Linked DNA regions of Homo sapiens: regions 1, 2, 4 and 5 are each linked to region 3. The links are contacts of gene promoters, found by promoter capture Hi-C in blood cells and fetal thymus (Javierre and others, 2016). All regions are on one chromosome and are shown on one strand. Each heading gives the region's core, a stretch centred on a gene start or on the middle of the fragment in contact. The rest is flanking DNA. Distances are from core to core; before and after follow the strand shown.

Region 1 (3,948 bases), core at 1,285-3,784, 300 kb after region 3:
GATGCCAGTCATTGGATTTAGGTTCACCTTAAATCCAGGATGATCTCATCTAAATTACATCTGCAAAAAGACCCTTTTTCCAAGTAAGTTGACATTCACAGGTACCTGGGGTTAGGATTGGACATATCTTTTGCAGGGGTGCAGGGGGCTGCCACTGAGCCCGCTGCACAGGGTGACCTGGGCCAAGGGCCCTTCACTTTCACTTCCTCATTGGCAAGCTGCCCTGTGTTTGGACTGGGTCGAGGCTGTCAACCTTGCTGCCCCTCGGAGTCCCCCCTGGTGTCCCCCAAACAGATTCTAAGCTGCTTTCCTGGGGCTGGAGGCCAGGCATTGGGATTTTTTAAAGAGCTTCCCAGCAGGTGAGCAGCCTTTCATGGGTATCAGGAGACCTTCCTGGCAAATGTGGTGAAGGTCCTTCCTCCTGAGCGATGCCTTAGACCCAGGAGCCCAGGGAGGCTGCTCACCTGATCGTTAGGACAGGAGCAGTGGAAACCTCTGGCCTCAGACCCCCTGGAGGAATCCCTCCCTCTAAGACTCTGGGACTGGTGCACGCAAGGAGCTATCGTGAACATTGCTCCCAACTGGCCGCTTGCTTGTCCCCCGGCTCCCCTTGGCCCCAGTGGCGGCTTTGCCTGAATTAGAGGGCGTGAGAGCCACCTGTGTCTCAGCACTGCAATTAAAGCAGGAAGCCCTTTCGGAAGCAGCCGTGTGCACCAGCCTCCCATGGGTGGAGCAGAGCAAACCACCCACTTCTGCCCTCTGCCCTTCTTCCCTTTTCTCGACACCCTGCGGCCCCCCAGTTTCAGCAGAGTTTATTTGGGGTGAAAAACAAGAGATGCTCAGCGCCTGTGGGATGTGTGGGCTGACTCGTACATTAGGATGTGTGTCAATCTGAAATAACCTGGCCGTTATATGGATGCCTTGGGGCTTGGGGGGTTTCTGGCAGTCTGTCGAGCCCGAGGTGAATGTCCCCAAGGCTGCTGGTGAATCAGATCCCTGGCGTTCTCCGTTGGCAGTTCAGCCCAACAGTTTCTCTGCCGGCCGTGCCTCTGCAGGTCCCTCCTCTGATCTGATTGGATTAATATTTGAATCAATAGACTGAGTCAAGCAGAATGTGGGTGGGCCTCATGCAATCAGCTGAAGCCCTGAAAAGAGCAAAAGGGCTGCCCCTTCCCCCGAGGAGGAGAGAACCCCTCCTGCCGGACGGCCTCCGAACTGGAACATCAGCTTTTTGCTGCCTTTGGACTTGAACTGAAACATTACCTCTCCCTGGGTCTTGAGTCTGCCTACGTTGGCACGGGAACTACACGTTGGCTCTCTTGGGCCCCAGCTTGCTGACTCACCTTGCAGGTGGTGGTGGACTTGTCAGCTCCGTAACTGTGTGAGCCAATTTCAATTTCTTAGAATCACAAATTTCTTTCTTTCTTTTCTTTTTTTCTTTTGAGACAGAGTTTCGCTTTAGTTGCCCAGGCTGGAGTGCAAAGGTGTGATCTCGGCGCACTGCAACCTCTGCCTCCAGGTTCAAGCGATTCCCCTGCCTAAGCCTCCTGAGTAGCTGGGACTGCAGGCGCCCAACACCACACCTGGCTAATTTTTGTATTTTTAGTAGAGATGGGTTTTTGCCATGTTGGCCAGACTGGTCTCTAACTCCTGACCTCAGGTGATCTGCCCGCCTCAGCCTCCCAAAGTGCTGGGATTACAGGCGTGCACCAACATGCCCGGCCCACAAATTTCTTTCTTTTCTTTTCTTTTTTTAAAATCAGTTTTCTGTTTCTCTGGAGAATCCTGACAAAGAGCGCATATCTGAGAATTTTAAAATCATTTATTGGAACTATTGAATCTGTTGTATTCTGTTTTTACTTTTGAAAATCCTTGCGGCTGGGGGAATGTACACCTTCTCTCTTTTCCTCTTAAACATTAAAGCCTGATTCGAGGTAGAGGCAACTCACTGTTGTGATGTCCTTTTATCCCAACCTCAGCCCCGGCAGAAAGACTCCGCGCCTTGGGACATTGGTGTTTTCCAGGAGTGACTGTGCTGGGGCAGCTGCCTGTTGCGATGAGGGCTGGCGGGGAACGATCCCCTCTGAGTTTGGCGTCACTTATTTGGAACCCTCCAGCAGAAAGCTTTCTAAGATGCCACACTATAAACTCATTCATGCAGTTATTGCGTTTCAGTTCAGATTCTATTGCTCTTGCTTCATTATTTCAAAGCCACATGATGATATCCATTACTGGGTGCAGAATGGCCCTGATGGGTCTAGAAGCACCGTGGTCTGACCCGTCCTAAGAGATGATCCAGTCACGAAATGCTGGTGCAGGTGTGGATCGAGCCAGTTATCTTCACTATCTGGAAACAAGACCCTGAAGTCCAGGTGGCCAAGGACTGCACCAGATCTCTTTCTTTTTTTTTCTTTTTTTTTTTTTGAGGCGGAGTCTCGCTCTGTCACCCTGACTGGAGTACAGTGGCATGATCTTGGCTCACTGCAACCTCCGACTCCCTGGTTCAAGCGATTCTCCTGCCTCAGCCTCCCGAGTAGCTGGGATTACAGGCATGCACCCCCATGCCCAGATTTTGTATTTTTAGTGGAGAGGGGGTTTCACCATGTTGGCCAGGAGGGCCTCGATCTGCTGACCTTGTGATCTGGCCGCCTCAGCCTCCCAAAGTGTTGGGATTTCAGGAGTGAGCCACTGCACTCAGCCTGCACCAACTTTTACAGACAGGCTGGAGTCCTGTCTAGAAGTCAGGACACCAGGCCTGGCTGGCACCCTATTCTCCAGACCACGCTGCCCTCCGCAGCCAGGTCCCAGGACCCAGACATAGGTGGATTTTTGTTTCTGACTTGCATTCGCTCTTTTACATGAACCGTGAATTCTTTGTCCTAACGTTATTGTTAGGGCGACAGCATTCCTGATCGTGGTGCTAATGCGGTTATCAATAGGCTCCAAAGCTTATCCTTGATGCTCACGATCTCAGAGTTGGAAGAGGCCCTGGCAAGCACCCAGGCCAGTCTTCTCTGGTAAGTGCCCTATGCCCTTAAAACCACCTCAGGATTTCAAGGACAGAGACAAATTAAAAATAGAGGCTTAATTCTCCTGATTGAAAAGAAGGGAAGAGATTTTTCTCTCCTTTTTCTCTGAGCATTACTCTTTATTTATTTATTTATTTTTTGAGACGGAGTCTCGCTCTGTCGCCCAGGCTGGAGTGCGGTGGCGCAATCTCGGCTCACTGCAACCTCCACCTCCTGGGTTCAAGCAATTCTCCTGCCTCAGCCTTCCGAGTAGCTAGGATTACAGGTGTGTGTCACTATGCTTGGCTAATCTTTTTTGTATTTTTAGTAGAGGCAGGGTTTCACCATGTTGACCAGGCTGGTCTTGAACTCCTGACCTCAGGCGATCTGCCCAGCTCAGCCTCCCAAACTGTCTCCTGGCCTCTCTGGTTTCCTAGGGAGGCCAAAAGCCTAACTTAGTTGATCTTGCTCCAAGCTGCAAAACCACCTCCTGTCATGAAGATAGGAGTTCATTCTTCTTCTAGATACAGACAATTAACAAACACAGATGGTAACCCCAGTGACCAGGTGGTTCTGGGGTCAACGGTGTGTGACAAATGGCACTGTCAGGGCCTCTTCCTTAAGGACTAGTTATTGTTTATGTTGAAAACACGCATGCAGTTAGTTGTACCTGTTTGAGTCTTTAAAAGGATAAGATCCTTTCTTTGCAGTCTCTTAGCCATTGCTTGTGATGCATATCATCTTCTGGCTTAACGGTTATTCAATAATGAAACTTTTCTTTCTTTTCCACCTTTGTGGAGAGGTTTCCTGGGTTTAGAGCACACGTCTTTTTTCTTTCTTTTTTTTTTTTTTTGAGATGGAGTCTCGCTCTGTCCTCCAGGCTGGAGTGCAGTGGCGCGATCTTGGCTCACTGCAACCTCCGCCTCCTGGGTTCAAGCAA
Region 2 (4,067 bases), core at 261-2,760, 400 kb before region 3:
CCTGTCCTCTCAAACTTAATCAGCTCATGATACGCTTAGCAAGACCTGCCCTTCATGAAAATGAGGGTGAGGGTGAGGGTGGCGACAGTTTTAAATATGTTTTAAAAGGAACATGAAATGAAGAATATTGGGCTTCACAAAAGGAACCCTCCTTTCCCTTGTTCTTTCTTCCCATGGAGAGGAAGAAGTTGAGGCTGAGTTATCACCTCCCATCAGCACTCGGTTTTGTTCCTGGACCCCTGACTTCGTCACCAAGGGCAGCTGGCTCCAGCTCTCAGCCTTTGAAGGATATTGTGGCTAGGGGTTCAGAGTCCCAGGCTCCCTCCCAGACAGATGGGTGGAGTGAGGCCACCTGAGATCTCACTTGCTAGGGTGGGTGCCACCAGGCCCACCGAGCTGCTGGGTCCTGGCCAAGCCCTCCTGTACCCCCTGAGAAAGTCTCCGTAGGGCTAGGAGCTGTTTGTGCCAACTTTAGATGGACTCATCTCTCAGTGATCCCATAAAATTGCTGCCTAGCCCTTCTGGTTTCAAGGATTTCACATCAGAAAACGTTTTACGAACCCAGGGCTAGTTCTGAAAACAGGAAGTGCTTTCAGCCCCCATGGGAGGAGGGGGGTGCAGGAGGCCTGTGGACCTGGACCTCTGGGAGCCAGGCTGGAGAACAGGAGCTGAAGGCTGAGCGGCGGCGGGGCCATTCACACAACCATGGTCTTTCCTCCCAGTGAGGAGGGACCCCAGGTGGGGCTGCTGAGCTCAGGAGCCGCTGGCTCTGCTGGAAGATCCGCCCCTCTGAGGCTGCGCGGGGAGGATGCAAGACTGGGCAAGAGCTCATTAGGAAACGCTGAGACAGAGGGTCCTAGTGAAGATTCCACTGCAGAGAGGGCAGTCCAGGTCATCACAGGGTGACATCTGGGGATGAGGCTGGCCGGGGCACGGGGCAGGTTTTTGAGCCCGGCAGTGTAAGCAGTCTCTGTCCCAAGGGAGGAAAGCCGCTGAGAGCTGCTGGGCCAGCAGGTGGGAGTGCTGGGCTGGCCTCAGGGTTTCTGGAAGGGGTATTCCCGAGAAGTGAGGTGCTGCTCTGGGACTCTGGTGCCCCTGGGGCCTTCCTGCAGGGCGCTCTCAGCAGCCACCTTCGGTAGAAGCCAGGGCCACCCTGCATGGGGGATGATGCCGCATCCAGCACAGAGCCTTGCGATCAGTCACTCTCCTCCCTCCACAATAGCGGGGACCTCCCTGCCCGCCGCACCCCTGCCCCCCGCCCCCGCCCCCGCTCCCGCCCCGCCGTGGCTGTGCAGCAAGCAGGGGACAGTCCCATCAGCAAAGTCGGGGAACTTCCAGGAAGCCCGCGTCCCCCTCAGCCTGCCTTTAGCCAGAAAAGATTCCAAGCTCTGCTCTCTACTTTGGAAAGCCAGTGTTTGCATGTGGAGATTGTTTTGCTAGACTCGACGAGGGTAGCAAAGCAACAGGAAGTGTTCCCCAGAGCTCCGCCCACGACTTGCGTGGCCCAAAGCTGGATGGTCGTCCGTCCCACCATGGCGGGTGGGTAAAGGTTCTTTTCCTGGGCTGTGTCATTCCACCCAGAGCAAGGGATAAGCCTGTGATAGCCGTAAATCCGGAACCACTACCAAGGTGAAAGACCTTCAAGTTAATTGTTGGAACCTGCGGCTCTAACACTTCCAGCAAAGCTACTTCTGTGAAAGCTGTGACGAGCAGAGGAAATGGGACAGGAGAGGAGCTGAATCCTGAGATTGTATCGCTAGGAGCCCCCAAAGTACGATGACGGTCCTCGGGCCAGCATGGGGGTGCATTGGCACCATGTAAGGAAAGGGGCCCTCCCGTGGCACCGTTGGAGTGGGGCGGTGTGGGGTTGTTCGGAGAGAAAAGTTTCCCATGAGCTCTGTTTCAGCAAACGGCGATGACCACTTCCGTGGCAACTAAACAGTCTTGCCTTCCTGCACGTGGACATTTTTCTTCATGCATATTTCTCTTGCAAATGGTTCTATTGTTTGTATAACAGTATTTCATGAGCGGAGAAGAGTTGGAAGCAAAAATCTGTTCATGAGAAATGTAAGTATGTGGTAACATTGCCTTCAGTGAAATTGAGAGCAGATCTAAAGGGATGTGAAAAGCATCAGGGTGCTCATATAGGAGGCAGGATCATTTCCCCCAGACCGCGGCCATGCGGGTTGTGTTTTATGGTAGGAGTGATTATGGCAGCCTATGTGTGTCTGGGCATAAGAATACTTATTCTATGGATCTTAAGGTAATTATGTGTTGGAATTATGTGTTGGAAAATGTATGGCGTGGAATTCAGTAGGGGAATGCTCACGATTTGTGTGGTTCCTGGAGTTGGAAATGGGTGGCAGATCCAGCAAGAGGCAAGATTTCCAAATGGACTGCTGAGTCATTCTTAGGGTGGGCTAGGAGAAAATGTGTTTTGGTCTGAAGGAGGGAGGAAGAAGACAAAAACAAGTAAATTAGAAAACGTGGTTGCAGGATTGAAATCTGATCCTGAAAAAGAGAGAATAGCCATGAGTATAATGTTTAAAAATACACACAAAGAAATCCACTGTGGTGGGAGTCACAAGAAGTTCAATCATTATCTGGTCTCGTCATCTCGAGTGAAGCTGTCCACTCCCAAAGCCGACTGCTTGGTCCATAGCTCTTAGTTTTTGCATCTGGAGGCTTTTGTGGTTAGTGTTGGTTTGAGGTCATTTGAGCTGATCCATTGGTCTGGGTTTGTTGCCTGTTTCTACTGACTCTTGAGTACTTGGGTCAACACCTTGGATCTTGACTGCCCTGGCATTTGCTAGGAGGACCTGAAATGGCTCCTTCCAAAGAGGTCTGAAAAGTTTTTGCCTTGAGGTCTCTTCCAGCGGACCCACACCAGGCTGGAGGTCAGAAAAGTCTGGCCGGCATTTCCTCTGGCTGGCATTTCCTTTGGGCACGAGACTTGGTGTGTGAGGCTAATCCTTGACAATGCTTAACTGCGTACATGAAATGGAGCAGAGCCAGGCCTTGCTGGAGTTACTCCTGGTCATGTACAGCATCTGGTTATGATCTCATGGGGTGCTGGACTAAGTGAGCACTCAGAGACGGTCACGCCAATAGCCTATTATATCCTCGACCTAGGAGTTAAGGAGTAATCTTCTGCTTACTCCTTAAGCAGCTCCTTAAGGAGCTGAGGCAGATAAATTGGGTGTGGCAAGCGGGGTGTCTGCCAGGCCCAGGAGCCCCGGCTGTCACCAGTGCATGATGTGACTTTGGGTGAGCCACATCTTCTGCTTACAGATAGAGGCCAAGACCGCACGGCCAATAAAGCTGGTGGCAAAACTCAAAGCCCAGAGAGATGGAGGGTTTTTTATAGTTAGGGAATTTCAGCTTCAGTGTGTGATTGATTTTGTATTTTGCGAACACCGAGGGTGATTCAGACAGTGAAGTGTCTGTGTTAGAAGAAGGACCCTCCAGGACAGTAAGTCTATAATCTTTTGATAGGAAGATAGGTATTGTCCATGCTGAGAATAGAAAGTCTAGCAAGAGGTAGACTTGCTATCATGAACCCATGGCTCTGAATCCTGTCTCACCTTTACAGTCTTGCCTGGGTTATATTGGTTGCAGATGAGATAGGACTCTACCACTTCCTGGGCCAATTCCAGAAAATTTCCTGACCAATATGCATTGCATGTAAAACTTAATTTACCTTTTCCATGATGCAAACAATTATGGAGTAATTTAGCTAGGAAGGCTCATGGCACTCAAGGACAGGTGTTCTGAGATGACCAGATTCCATCTTTATTAAGAAACTATTTTTGAGATTGCCAATATTACTTGTCAGAAGTTTGCATCGATTATTATGAGTCAATTATAAATGGATCCAATTTTCTTTCTGAAAGTTTGGTGGATAGATGTCAGTTACTATTTTAGAACTCTTAATATAGTATTTAAAGCTATTTTTTTTTAACATGAAGTCAGTAAGGACATCGCCCTTGACTTCTGGCATGGCTTCTCAACTAAAAGCTTCTACTTTAGTATCTCATACCTCCTTTGGATATTGGGTAGCTTCTAAT
Region 3 (4,207 bases), core at 1,290-3,789:
CTGCACACAAAGACCCTAGGAGAATCCTATGCCCCAATTCAGGGAACATCTTGCAAATATGAGGGGCTGGGGTGGGAGGCAGCTCGTCAGAAAAGCACTGAGAAATGTGGCAGGGCAAGTGGCACAGCGACTACTTCAAGGCCTAGGTACAACCTTGTGAGACTGCAATGCAACCAGCTCCTGGAGCACAGTGGGACTGATGTACATTCCTAACAAGAACCTCAGGCTCAATACAGTCAATAATTAACCTAAAGGAATCAGCTTCACAAAGAGCCAGGGTTTGACCAACTTCTCAGAAAGATCAGCCACTGCTGCACATGGCAAAGCCCCAACCTACTCTACCAGGCCCAGCAGAGCACAGGAGGTGAAATGCTTCCTGCTAGGCGATGCTGACCTCGACCTAGCCACCTGACATGCCACCACCTGTCTGCTTTGGGCAGGGTAGGAAAGGCTTCCAGTTAAAGTACAAAACACTTTTCAACCAAGCTATGCAATATCCTAAGTGATCCACCTTAAGTGGAGAAAGCCTCCCTCCAACCAGGCCACCCAAGAAATAAGGGACTGGTCGCTAGAAATAACAGAAGATCCTAAGGATGTGAGCTGGTGAGTCAGTCCAGGTAGGTGCTTGTTTACTTTGCTCTTCCAATATAAGAAAGTGGTGTGAAAATTTTCACTGATGATTAAAGCTCACACACATCCCCAAGAGATAAAACGAATGCCCCTATGGAGAGGGTTCCCTTTCAGAACCTAACCACTGGCTGGTATTCAAAGTGGTTTGGATTTCATCAAAATAACCACAGCACCCCTCCTGGCCTGAGAAGTTCCCAGAATCTGAGGCAGGGGAGAAAAAGTGCACAGCCTGGGCCAGCATCTCACCTTTGAACTAGTGGTGATTTGATGACACTCGTCACCACTCTACTGGTGTTTCCAAGAAACACTGGATTTGAGGGTTACGGCAAAAAGCCACCACTATCTCTGCTGTGTAGTCTCCTAGCCAAGGACGAAAATGCAAAGGGAGAGGACAGGCCTCTCATCCACAGAGGCGTCACAGTCACGGTATGGGGCTGCAGCACGCACTGCCACCCCAGACACAGGCATCACAACGATTCTGCAGAAAAGCTGGGGCTTAGCGGCCCCATCACTCAATCAGCCGAGCATTCGAAACCAGGTCTGCCAGGCAGCAAAGGCTAAATGGTATTTTAAAAAGGTGTCGCTTCTGAGTGTATGTGTTCAAGGAATCTCTAGGTAAAATACAAGCATAGCTTCCATGTAGAAGGTAAGCTTCATTAAAGGATAAATAATTAAAACGTGCTAAATTGAGCCTTACATATGAACCATCAAAATCAACTGTAAACAGTGAAATCTACAACAACAAAGAGGTACTGTTCAAGAACATTCTCCCTACCTCTCAAATTATGCACAGACGACAACCGACCCACCGAATTTAACACGGGCGGCTCTGCGTCCTTCCCATTCGTCTTTGTTACCTTGAACACTCCTGCTAGGTAGGTACAGGCAGGTTCCATTCTGACTTTTGGACTGGGAAACTGGGGTGCAGGAGGGCCCCATGGCACGGCCACAGAACTTGAATGCAAGGCCCTTCCCTAGCGGGTCGGTCTCGAAATTAAGTCAGCTAAAACGAGAGTGTGCGGCGAGGAAGCGCTGGGCGGACGGATCAACACCCCGGGCCCCGTGCCGGACCCCACTGCCAGGCCCGAGCCCCGGAGCTCCACCGCGCAAGCGCCGGGCGCCCGGGAAGCCTCGCCCGAGCCAAGCCGAAGCTTCCGACCGAAATAATTACAGTCTTACACCAATTTGTGTTCCAACGTAAATTACTAAGTAAGTCGAACGGAGGCTAACTCCACTCACAAAGCCCAGAGGCCCACATGGCAATTTTTCTAAGCCCTGCGCAGACCGCAGCGCCCCGGTGGGTCCCGGGCGGGCCGGACGCGCCTCCCAAGGGCGCGGGTCCGAGGCGCAAGGCGAGCTGGAGACCCCGAAAACCAGGGCCACTCGGGGAGTGTCAGGAAGCACGACTGGGCGCCTTAGGACGTCCGGGCAGACGCGGCCCCCGAGGAGCCCCAGAGGAGCCCCAGAGGAGCCGCCTGACCCGGCCCCGACGTGCGCGATCGAGCCCGGGCTCGCCAAAGCCCCCGCGCCCCTCCGGCCCGGACAGGCCGAGTGGACATTGTCGGAGCCCCGCGGCCTCGCCGGCAATTGGTTTCCCCCCCGAAGCTGCTCCGGGGGTGAGTTCGGGAGAGAGAGGCAGGACCCCGGGACCAGAGCACCCCGACCCCGACCCCAGCCCGGGCCCCAGCCGCCCCAGCGCCCCGCCCGGGCCGCTCACCTGTCGTCGACGTGCAGGCTGGGCGAGCACTTGATGGCCAGCCAGGTCTTCCAGTGGACATGGCGCACCTTGTACACCTGCCCGAAGCCGCCCGAGCCCACCTTCTCCCAGCCCGTGAACTCGCCCGCGTCGAAGGTGCGCAGCAGCGCCAGGGCCCATGGGGTCCCGCCGTCGCCCTCCATCGCGCACGTCTAGCCAGCGCCGCGGCGGCTGCCCAGGTGCCCAGGTGCGCGCTCCGCCCTGTTACGTCACTTCCGTAGGTCGTCCCGCCCCCAGGCCCCGCCCACTTACCCGCCCCCCGGGCGCCCTCTCTGCCAGCGCCCGGTGACTGCGGACGGATGAATAGACGCTGCGGGTCACTGCGCTCTCCCCTGGGTGAGCAGAGCTTCTCACGCTTCTCACGGGTCTCGACGTGCGCATCAGCTGCCCTGCTTTTCTTTGCTTTTTTTTTTTCCTTAATTGCGGAGTCACATGCAGTTGTAAGAAATCATTCACTTTGCCTAGTTTCCCCCAGTGTTACCACTTTGCAAAACTTTGCCAAAAAAAAAAGTCCAATCTCACAACCAGGATATTGACTTTGATACAGTCACCGATCTTATTCAGTTTTGCCGTTTTACTCGTCTTCCTTTGCATGTATTAGTTTTACACAATGTAATCATCTGTGTACCTTCCCGTATCCACCCCCACCTGGCCACTCCTGTGGCGATTTTACAGCCGCACCCCGGAGCCCTGGCATCACTAATCTTTCCTCTATTTCTAAAATTGTTTTATTTCAGAAATGTTATGTTTAGATACAGGAATCATACAGCGCCTAATTTTTTGAAATTGGCTTTCTTCACTCGTTAGTCTAATTCCCTGCAGGTTCACGTCTTGCTTTTTTACACGAGTTTCCTCTCAGAAAGTAACTTTTTTTAAAAAATTACCCAACAGCAAATCTAAAGTCCATTTCAAATGCAAGAGTTCCCTCATCCTTTCCTAAATAACAGCCTCTTTTTACAGGTAGAACAGATGGTTTGAAAAGGAAAGATTTTTTTTTCACATATGGGGAAAAAAAATTCCCAGCCTTGGAAGGATATTTGGGTTAGAGGCCGAAGTGCATCACAGATCACGCACGCGTCCACACCTCAGAAAACACTCACTCATTCCTGAGACGCAACGGTGAGTGAAGGCTTATTTTTGGCCACAGGAGATTAATAATGAAGACAGGAGGGCGGAGCTAAAGGAGAGGGTATTTTAACGACATTAACTGTGTTTTTGTGTTAGTAACTCGGAAAGAGAGAGGCTGCCCCAAGTCAGCGCATTGAAAGCCGCAGACCTAGTGTCTCCAGGCTCCCCCTTCCAAACGGGCGCGGACCTTCTTTCATAGCCTGTAGCGGGGAGCCGCGTCTCCCCACTGCCTCCCCACTCCCATCCGGCCGCTCTTTGGAGGGAACTCACACATCCCAACATGACGATGCTTGCTCGGGGGGCCTCCTGGGGGGACCAGGGAGCCACTTCCTTTCCCACATACTCCGGAAATTAAAGTTGGTCTCCTTAAGGCTGGAGTGGCAAATAGTTGTTTTAAGCTTGTCACAAATGTAACTTACATTTGGACTAATGTTTTAAAAAATAATTGGAGTTTTGAATCTACGAAGATACCTTGGAAGTAAACATAGTTATTATTTTGGTGGGAAAAAAATGAATGGACTTGAAAGTGAGTCACCTGTCCTGTTCCCGGGGCTCAGCTCTAGCAAAGTACCTTTCTCCATCTACAGTCTCCGGCACACAGCTCCGCAGCTGGGGGTGACTAAGAGCCCACACCACGCAAGTAATAAAACGCTCCAATTTCATTTATTTAATCATCTGTGTGCTTCATTTGAC
Region 4 (4,317 bases), core at 945-3,444, 460 kb before region 3:
TCAGGGAACAGGCTCAAGGAGAGGGAGAGAGATGGGGAATAGCTGGTTAATGGAGCAGCCAAAGCACACACACATATATGGATGAAGTTCACTGTCTTCTGTGGACACTGTTCATGGCACCCCCAAAATAGTCACAATAGTAACATCAAAGATGTCTGATCACAGATCCCCATACCATATATGATAATGCTGAAAAAGTTTGAAGTATTGCCAGAATTACCAAAATGCGCCACAGAGACAGGAAGTAAGCACATGCTGTTGGAAACAAATGGCAGCAGTAGACTTACTGGAGGCAGGGTTGCTAGGAACCCTCAATTTGTAAAAGATGCAGTATCTGCATATGAAGTGAAGCACAATAAAGTGAGGTGTGCCTGTATTTCAAGATGTGTGTCATATAGTTCTTTTTTATACATAATCCCTTACATAACTTGTTTCTAAATCAACACTGAAATTCAGCCAGTTTTTCTCTTGATGTCTTATGACAGTGAGAGATAAAATAACCCATTAACATAACAACCGTAGTGACCACTTATGGGATGCCTCATTTGCATCCAGGATTATTCAAGGTACCTTCTCTCCATTTTCTCACTTAATCCCCACAACCACCCTATGAGATGAGTGTCACTGCCCCTGTTGTGTAGATGAAGAAGCCAGGCTCAGAGAGGTTAAATGGCATGCCCCAAACCACCCAGCCATGAGGGCAGAAGTAGAGGTTCTGGGTAGTGCTCACCCAACTTCCATGCTCTTCCTCCAAACAATCTGTGCAGCTGCCGTCAGCAGAAATGGCTTTAACAAGAGTGAAAAGCAGTAGCAAAGGCAACGAGTTTGGGTGCCAGTCTTTTGATTGTTGGTTTTTGTTTTTCTTTTCTTTTTTTTTTTTTTTTTTTTTGAGACAGAGTTTCACTCTTGTTGCCCAGGCTGGAGTGCAGTGGTGTGATCTTGGCTCACCACAACCTGTGCCTCCTGGGTTCAAGCGATCCTCCTGCCCCAGCCTCCAGAGTAGCTGGGATTACAGGCATGCACCCCTACACCCGACTAATTTTGTATTTTTAGTAGAGACAGGGTTTCGCCATGCTGGTCAGGCTAGTCTCGAACTCCTGACCTTAGGTGATCCGCCTGCCTCGGTTTTTCACACATTTTGCAGTCCAGGCGAGGTGCAAATAAACAGTGAAATGGTCATCAGGTCCCAGGAGTAGGGTTGGGACAAGTAGGAAGAGAAGTGGTGGCAGGGTCACACAGACTCTGGGAGGTCAGCAGAAGCATGTGGATCTTCCCTTGCCCTTGACCTGGTGACCTCCCACTTTAGATTCATCTTCACAAAAGGAGGTATGGGATGTGTTACTGGGACCAAGAAGACTCTGATGCAGGGTCTCAACTTAAGAGACCGAGGCTCTAGCTGAGTGGCCTTGGGCTACACACAGACTTTGTGCACTTCAGTTGCCTAATGGGTAAAAGACAGGGTGGCCAGGGATTTCCACACTGCTCAAGTGAGCACACAGCATCATCCGCCTTCAGGACTAGCTAGTTAGATGATCCTGTAAACTGTAGTACTGATTTATATTCTACTTTTGGTCAAAATCTCTTTTCCAACTGGAGTCTCCTTTTCTGACAAATGGACCATAATAGCTTCAGCCTCCCCTTGGAGCTGTTTTCTTACTTCTGTGTCACTCAAGTTCATGAGAGTTGGGTGCCTTTCCTTCCCACAGTGGGTCACCCATGTGCCAGGGTCTCTTCCTTGCTAGGCTTGAGTTCTGCTTCCGCTTCTTCCTGTCCTCCCATGCTGGCCACGAGCATCATGATGATGCAGAAAACCCATAAGGGACACGTGGAACTGTAGGATATACACATCCCCAGTCACAGTTGCAGATCAAACCATCTAAAACTTTGGATTCTTCCCAAAACCTGCAGTGTATGTTTCAGGGTGCATTGCTGCAGCTAAGAGTGTGAACCCACACCTTTCCAAATGAGAGCCATGGATTTTCTGTACAGACACATTTGGCACATTCAGGAGACTCACAGGGGAAACAGTTTGCAGCAGCTTTACCGGCAGAACCAACAAGACCAGTTTAAAAGCTTAGACGCATTGATCTGAATATTTGATGGCTGTCCTTCCTGAGGGCAATAGTCATGCCCCAGTGCCAGATACCATCACGCTTGGGAACTGGACATTTGCATTACCACCTGGTCCACCCAGGTTGTTTCCCAGAACAAAAGGGGAGCAACCCAAAATGGTGACTTTCCCTCTTTCAGGAGAGCTCAGTTTACCTTTGCCTGCCTCTTCTGGTCCCATTCAGACTCAGAAATTTTTATGTAGGCTAAGCTTTCTGCCAAGCCAGAGTTCACAGGTCTCTGGGTTTCTCATCCTCCCAGCCTGGTGCTGCAGGGAAGTGACTGACAGAGCTATGATTCAGGAAGGAGGGTGGGAGTTTCTACCCAAAGGCAGCCTTGCTCAGCCTCAACATCTTCCTTGTCTCTTGGTTCTCTTGCTCCAGGAGAAGCCTGCGGTCTCTCCACTGTCCTGCCAGTCATCACCCTGGCTCTCCATGGCTATGTTCACAATGAGCCTCACCCCACCCCGGCCCCGCATCACCAGTTCCTCTTGGTGGCACCACGTGACCATACACACTCTTTTGGCCACACAGGAGCCTGTGGGGTCACTGTCTGTCCTCTGCTCATTTGTGGGTTTTCCACTCTTGGTGCTCCCATCTGCAGCTCAGTCCTCCCTAGGAACCCCGTGAGCTACTGCCTCATTTTCTGGATCTTTGCACTAGAATGTGAGTGGCACAAGTTCCATATCTGTGTCACTTTTGTGCACTGATGCATCTCTGAAGTTTACACATTGCCTGAGATCTAGTAGGTGCTTCATCCACATCTGGCTGATTGAACTGAATTGAACTAGGACCTGTACTTCCACTAAGGTGCTCTGTCTGGGTTTCTGGCCCTTCCAAAATGAGCACACCCTTCTCCCAGGTTGGAAGAGCTCTGAAGAGTCAGCCCTGCACCATCCTCTGGTACTCCCAGGGTGCATGCTGGGACACAGAGAGCCTCTTGCTTTCCACGTAGTTGGTCAGCTGGCCCTGATTCTGGATAACATCACCCCTGGCTCAGCAAGCCTGGCTGCTCCCAGCCCTGTAGGGTGAAGGGCAGCTGCATAAGTAATGACAAGTGTAAGTGTCTGCTGGCATGTTTCATGTGTTATCCCATTTAATCTTAACAGTTCCTAAAAGGATATTTTTTCCCCATTTCACGTATTTTTTTAAAAATCTGAGTTTAAAAAGTATTAAATAAGTTGTTCCAAATCTGTTAGTTTGGTGAGGAACCTTGATTGACACCAAGTCTGACTCTAAACCTAGGTTATCTGTCCCTTTCGTTTCCAATGGATCTTCTCAGTGTTTCAGCCAGGCAGTCTAAAGCAGTGGTTCTCAAACATTTTGCTCTCAGGACCCCTTTATACACTTAAAAGTGACGGAGGAGCCCCAGGAGCTTTTGTTTCTGAAGGTTCTGGCTATTGATATTTACTGCATTCGAAGTTGAAAGTGAGGAGCAACATGACAAAACCCTGTCTCTACAAAAAAAAAAAAAAAATATATATATATATATATATATATATATATATATATATATATATATGTATATATACAAAAGTTAGTTGGGTGTGGTGGCACACACCTGTGATTCCAGCTACTCAGGAGGCTGAGGTGGGAGGATCGCATTGAACCTGGAAGGTTGAGGCTGCAGTGAGCTATGATCATGTCACCTCACTCCATCCTGGGTGACAGAGTGAGACCCTGTATTAAAAAAAAAATTAAAAATGACAAATTTTTAATATATTAATTCACTTAGAAATAAAAACAATACAACCATTGCCTGTTAACATAAACATAAATAGTTTTATGAAGAACAGTTTTATTTTCCAAAACAAAATATCTAGTGAGAAGAATGACATTGTCTTACATTTTTGCAAATCTCTTTAATGTCCTTAGCAGAAGACAGCTGGATTCTCAGGGCTCCTTTTGCATTCAGTCTGTTGAAATATGTTGTTTTCGTTGTAGGTGTGGAGAAAACTAGTTTCACACAGATACATAGTTGGAACAGTGAGGAGTACCTTAATACCCTTTTCAGATAATTGTGTGTATTAGTCCATTTTCACACTGCTGATAAAGACATACCTGAGACTGGGCAATTTACAAAAGAAAGAGGTTTATTGGACTTACAGTCCACATGACTGGGGAAGCCTCACAATCATGGTGGAAGGCAAGGAGGAGCAAGTCACGTCTCATGTAGATGGCAGCAGGCAAAGAAAGCTCTTGTGCAGAG
Region 5 (4,206 bases), core at 1,617-4,116, 370 kb after region 3:
TGCATGTCCTGCCTTGCCATCCATGGTGATGGGGACGGCCAGCAGGATTCAGCCAAGGGTAGATATGTGTGTGTCTGTGTTTTGTGGCCCTTTACGGAGCGTGCAGCCTCCCTTCTGAAAAAGCAACCAGGAGCAGGCAGAGAGGGGAAACTACAGGTAGGTTGGTGAAGGTTCGATCGCTTCACACACCCACTGGACTGGCTCCACGATACCAGCGGCAGTGCTATATGGGTGACCACAGGACCCAGGGGCCCACCACAAATCCCATCTCTGCCACCCACTCTCTTGACCACCCGGGCAAGGTCCTGAGCCTCTTGGTGCCTCGGTTTCATCATTTGTAAAAGAAACCATGGTAACATTTCCGGCCACGTGGAGGGTGTGAGATTTAAATGGGAAGATGCCCAAGAGGCCCCGCTATGGGGTCTGACGCCCTCAATTGCTGGTGGATCCTAACGATGGTCCTCGGCCGAGTGTCCCTGAAACCTGGTGCTCGTAGGGATTGTCACGTGTGGTGTGGATGCCACAGTGGACCCCCCACACCTTGCTGCTCATGCCCGCAGCCCCGACTTATGTATGACCTTTTGAGGCTGAAGATGCTTCTCTGATCTGCCCTGTGGACTTTTGTTTTTCCTGGGCCTGCACATAGTTCACCACAAATGAATGACAAGCATTATGGAGGGCAGTATGGTTAGTATAAACCTTCAGTGGGAAACACCAAGACTGGGACTTTTGTAAAGATTTTCAGATTTTTTTTTTTTTTGAGATGGAGTTTTGCTCTTGTTGCCCAGGTTGGAGTGCAGTGGTGCGATCTTGGCTCACCACAACCTCCACCTCCCAGGTTAAAGCGATTCTCCTGTCTCAGCCTCCTGAGTAGCTGGGATTACAGGCATGCGCCACCACACCCAGCTAGTTTTGTATTTTTAGTAGATACAGGGTTTCTCCATGTTGGTCAGGCTGGTCTCCAACTCCTGACCTCAGGTGATCCACCCGTCTCGGCCTCTCAAAGTGCTGGGATTACAGGCGTGAGCCACCGTGCCCGGCCAAATTTTGAGATTTTTCTAAAAAAAGAACATGCCTGTAATCCTAGCACTTTTGGAGGCCAAGGCAGGAGGATCGCTTAAGCTTAGGAGTTCCAGACCAGCCTGGGCAAGATAGAAAGACTCCATCTCTACAAAAAATACAAAAATAAGCCGGGTGTGGTGGCACACACCTGTGGTCCCAGCTACTTGGGAGGCTGAGGTGGAAGGATCCCTTGAGCTCGAGAGGTGGAGGTTGCAGTGAGCCGAGACTGCCCCACTACACTCCAGAGGGGAACCCTGCCTCAAAAATAAATAAATACTAATAAAAGAAGAAGAGAAGCAATCATGAGGCTTATCTGGCAGCGTGTGAGACTGCTGACTCCAAATGCTGTAAGGGAAGCATGCGGCTTCGGCTTCTGGGGAGGCCTCAGGAAACTTACAATCATGGCAGAAGACCAAGGGGAAGCAGGCACGTCTTCCATGGCTGGAGCAGGAGGAAGGGGTTGGGGCAGGTGCTACAGATGTTTAATCAACCAGATCTTATGAGAGCTCTATCGTGAGACAGCACCAAGAGGATGGTGCTAAATCATTTATGAAGGATCCGCCCCATGATCCAACCACCTCCCACCAGGCCCCACCTTTAATATGGGGATCACATTGAACATGAAATTTGGGTGGGGACACAGACCCACACCATATCAACTGCCCACCCTCTCAGCCAACAGGAGAACAAGGAAAGACGAGAGGCCAATTTTCCCTCGATGTTTTAATTTCAAGGAGGGGGACATCCAGCATGACCCAGCACCGACCCACCAGATGTCCTTAGAAAGCTAGTGGGATAGTGTTGGCCTCATCGCTGGGATTCGCATCTTAAATATTAAGTAAAAGGCACTGACATTTCCTCGTAACTCTATCTAGGGAGGTGACTGGTCTCTAGCACTGGTCCCGTCTATGCTGTAAGGGTCCTGAGACCCCAGAATACTGCGCATGTTAGTTACCAGGAGTCCTGGCAGGAGAGACGGGAAAGACAAAGCTAACACAAGCGTCCCCCTCACATGGGCAGAATCACTTCCACAAGCGGGTGGCGTTTTCTTTGAAGTTGCCCAGCAAGGGCAGCATGGAGGTTGCCTTTTGGAAACGTGTGCTGTAGTCTGGGCTTTGCTGGTGACCTGGGAGGATTGGCTTGAGTTCTCTGGGCCCCATTTCCTCATTTTAAGATTGGAGCCAGTGTCTACTACACTTTGCTGAGTTGTTTCAAAAATCTGTTATCTCAAGAAAATAAGGACCTGAGCACAGGAAAGATGGGCTGGGCTGGAGAAGCTGCCTGCCCGACGAAGAGGGGGTGGGCTGATGTTGACAATGTCTGTTGTTTCCCAACATCCCCGTGAGGTTGTGCTGTTATTAGCATCCTGTGTTATAGATGGGAATCCAGGGCAGAAAGGGATAGACGTCCCAGGTCACGTGGCTAGGAGGTCCAGGGCAAGAAGGGATAGGTGTCCCAGGTCACGTGGCTAGGAGGTCCAGGGCAGGAAGGGATGTGTCCCAGGTCACGTGGTTGGGAGGTCCAGGGCAGGAAGGGATAGGCCTCCCAGGTCACATGGCTGGGAGGTGGCCGAGCTGGGGCTGCATGGGATTTCCGTTTGGCTCTGGGGTCAGCTCTCTTAGCTACCAAGCTTAGAGCCTTTCTTACACTAGTGTTCACATGACTGATGGACCCTTAGAACAATGCCCCTTGCCTTTCCCCTTCATCAGAGACCCGGAGAATTTGTATTTTAGCAGCTGTGCAAGGGGATCCACAATTCTTAATTCTTGCAGTGGGGACACCAGGTGTCCCAGTTGAGAGGCAGCAACTGTTGTGGTTACAGGGAAGGAGCCTTCCCAGGACCCCTGAGCCTCCCCGGGAGGCAGGTGCTGCTGCTCAATTGTGGTCTGGGTCCTCAGCCACCTCCGGGGATCCCAAAGGGGCAGGGAACAACAGCGAAGTTTCAGTTCAACTTTACACTCTAATAGTGAAAAATAAGGAAGCTTCCTCAGTTTGGTAGCTTTTGGCCTCTGGTTTGGGGCCCATGGGGTTTGGGCCATGAAGACCCCCTCCTCACCAACCCCATTGCCTCCCATCCTGGGCAGGAGACATTGTCAATACCAGCCCGCCCCCTCTTCGTCAGGCAGGCAGCTTCCCCAGCCAAGCCCGTCTTCCCTGTGCTCAGGTCCTTATTTTCTTGAGATAACAGATTTTTGAAACAACTCAGCAAAGTATAGTAGACACTGGCTCCAATCTTAAAATGAGGAAATGGGGCCCAGAGAACTCAAGCCAATCCTCCCAGGTCACCAGCAAAGCCCAGACTACAGCACACGTTTCCAAAAGGCAACCTCCATGCTGCCCTTGCTGGGCAACTTCAGAGAAAACACCACCCGCCTGTGGATGTGATTCTGCCCATGTGAGGGGGATGCTTGTGTTAGCTTTGTCTTTCCCGTCTCTCCTGCCAGGACTCCTGGTAACTAACATACGCAGTATTCTGGGGTCTCAGGACCCTTACAGCATAGACAGGGCCAGTGCTAGAGGCCAGTCACCTCCCTAGATAGAGTTACGAGGAAATGTCAGTGCCTTTTACTTAATATTTAAGATGCGAATCCCAGCGATGAGGCCAACACTATCCCGCTAGCTTTCTAAGGAAATCTGGTGTATTGGTGCTGGGTCATGCTGGATGTCCCCTTCCTCGAAATTAAAACATCCGAGGGAAAACTGGCCTCTTGTCTTTCTTTGTTCTCCCGGGGCTCCTGTCTTTCGAAGTGAGAACTGTCTCACCAGTTCTAAAGTTCCTGCAGACATCTGCTCTTTGAAAACCATCAGCCAACCCACCCACCCCCACCAGGTCGACCCTTGGGCAGCCCCACTCAGAGATGTTCCCAGAGTCCTGGTGGGTTCTCCACGGATGGTGCAAAGGTGCAGGGGCCCCAGCTGTGCTCGTCTGGCTCAGGTATCTTCACCAGCCACCCCCACCAGTTGGCGTGTCAGGAGCATCGCTCACCTGAGGGCAGGCACAGCCCCATGGTCCCCGTTCCACTGGGCACTCTGGGAGTGGCTGCCTTTTCATTAGGGGCTTGATCTGTCCCTCTCCAGTAAACATAGACGCCATGTCCTCGGGTTGGTGTTTCCTCCACTACCCCTCCTCCTGGGGTTTTCTGT

Evidence for each region. The method cuts DNA at HindIII sites, captures the fragments that hold promoters and counts their contacts. A CHiCAGO score of 5 or more calls a contact.
Region 1: a fragment that was not itself captured here is called in contact with the fragment with the promoter of RIPK4 in region 3 in 1 of 17 cell types (fetal thymus); the score reaches 5.5 in fetal thymus.
Region 2: a fragment that was not itself captured here is called in contact with the fragment with the promoter of RIPK4 in region 3 in 1 of 17 cell types (fetal thymus); the score reaches 5.8 in fetal thymus.
Region 4: a contact is called between a fragment that was not itself captured here and the fragment with the promoter of RIPK4 in region 3, in 1 of 17 cell types (endothelial precursors). The highest score is 5.0, in endothelial precursors.
Region 5: a fragment that was not itself captured here is called in contact with the fragment with the promoter of RIPK4 in region 3 in 1 of 17 cell types (fetal thymus); the score reaches 5.5 in fetal thymus.

What each region holds. Positions count from the first base shown.
Region 1 is chr21:42,063,132-42,067,079 of GRCh38, forward strand. It overlaps a transcript of UMODL1 not described here. Among named protein-coding and RNA genes, the nearest start is that of UMODL1, 6.2 kb to the right of the region's middle. RefSeq lists enhancers at 1-16, 967-1,036. The HindIII fragment of the contact is 824 bases long and covers 2,123-2,946 here.
Region 2 is chr21:41,368,579-41,372,645 of GRCh38, forward strand. The region is part of intron 1 of MX2 (MX dynamin like GTPase 2); the gene reads left to right. Among named protein-coding and RNA genes, the nearest start is that of MX2, 8.6 kb to the left of the region's middle. RefSeq lists enhancers at 209-897, 607-666, 898-1,584, 1,459-1,603, 1,537-1,746, a silencer at 297-346 and a cis regulatory region at 1,531. The HindIII fragment of the contact is 5,010 bases long and covers 1-4,015 here.
Region 3 is chr21:41,764,513-41,768,719 of GRCh38, forward strand. It overlaps RIPK4 (receptor interacting serine/threonine kinase 4), which reads right to left and starts at 2,540. Exons shown (of 8, transcript NM_020639.3): 1 at 2,348-2,540. The coding sequence starts at 2,529. It overlaps LOC102724800 (a long non-coding RNA gene), which reads left to right and starts at 2,655. Exons shown (of 5, transcript XR_937745.3): 1 at 2,655-2,722; 2 at 3,347-3,505; 3 at 4,102-4,207. RefSeq lists enhancers at 1-252, 4,157-4,207. The HindIII fragment of the contact is 2,131 bases long and covers 1,780-3,910 here.
Region 4 is chr21:41,307,668-41,311,984 of GRCh38, forward strand. It overlaps a transcript of FAM3B not described here. Among named protein-coding and RNA genes, the nearest start is that of FAM3B, 7.0 kb to the right of the region's middle. The HindIII fragment of the contact is 247 bases long and covers 2,072-2,318 here.
Region 5 is chr21:42,137,833-42,142,038 of GRCh38, forward strand. The region is part of intron 22 of UMODL1 (uromodulin like 1); the gene reads left to right. Among named protein-coding and RNA genes, the nearest start is that of UMODL1-AS1, 31 kb to the left of the region's middle. The HindIII fragment of the contact is 352 bases long and covers 2,691-3,042 here.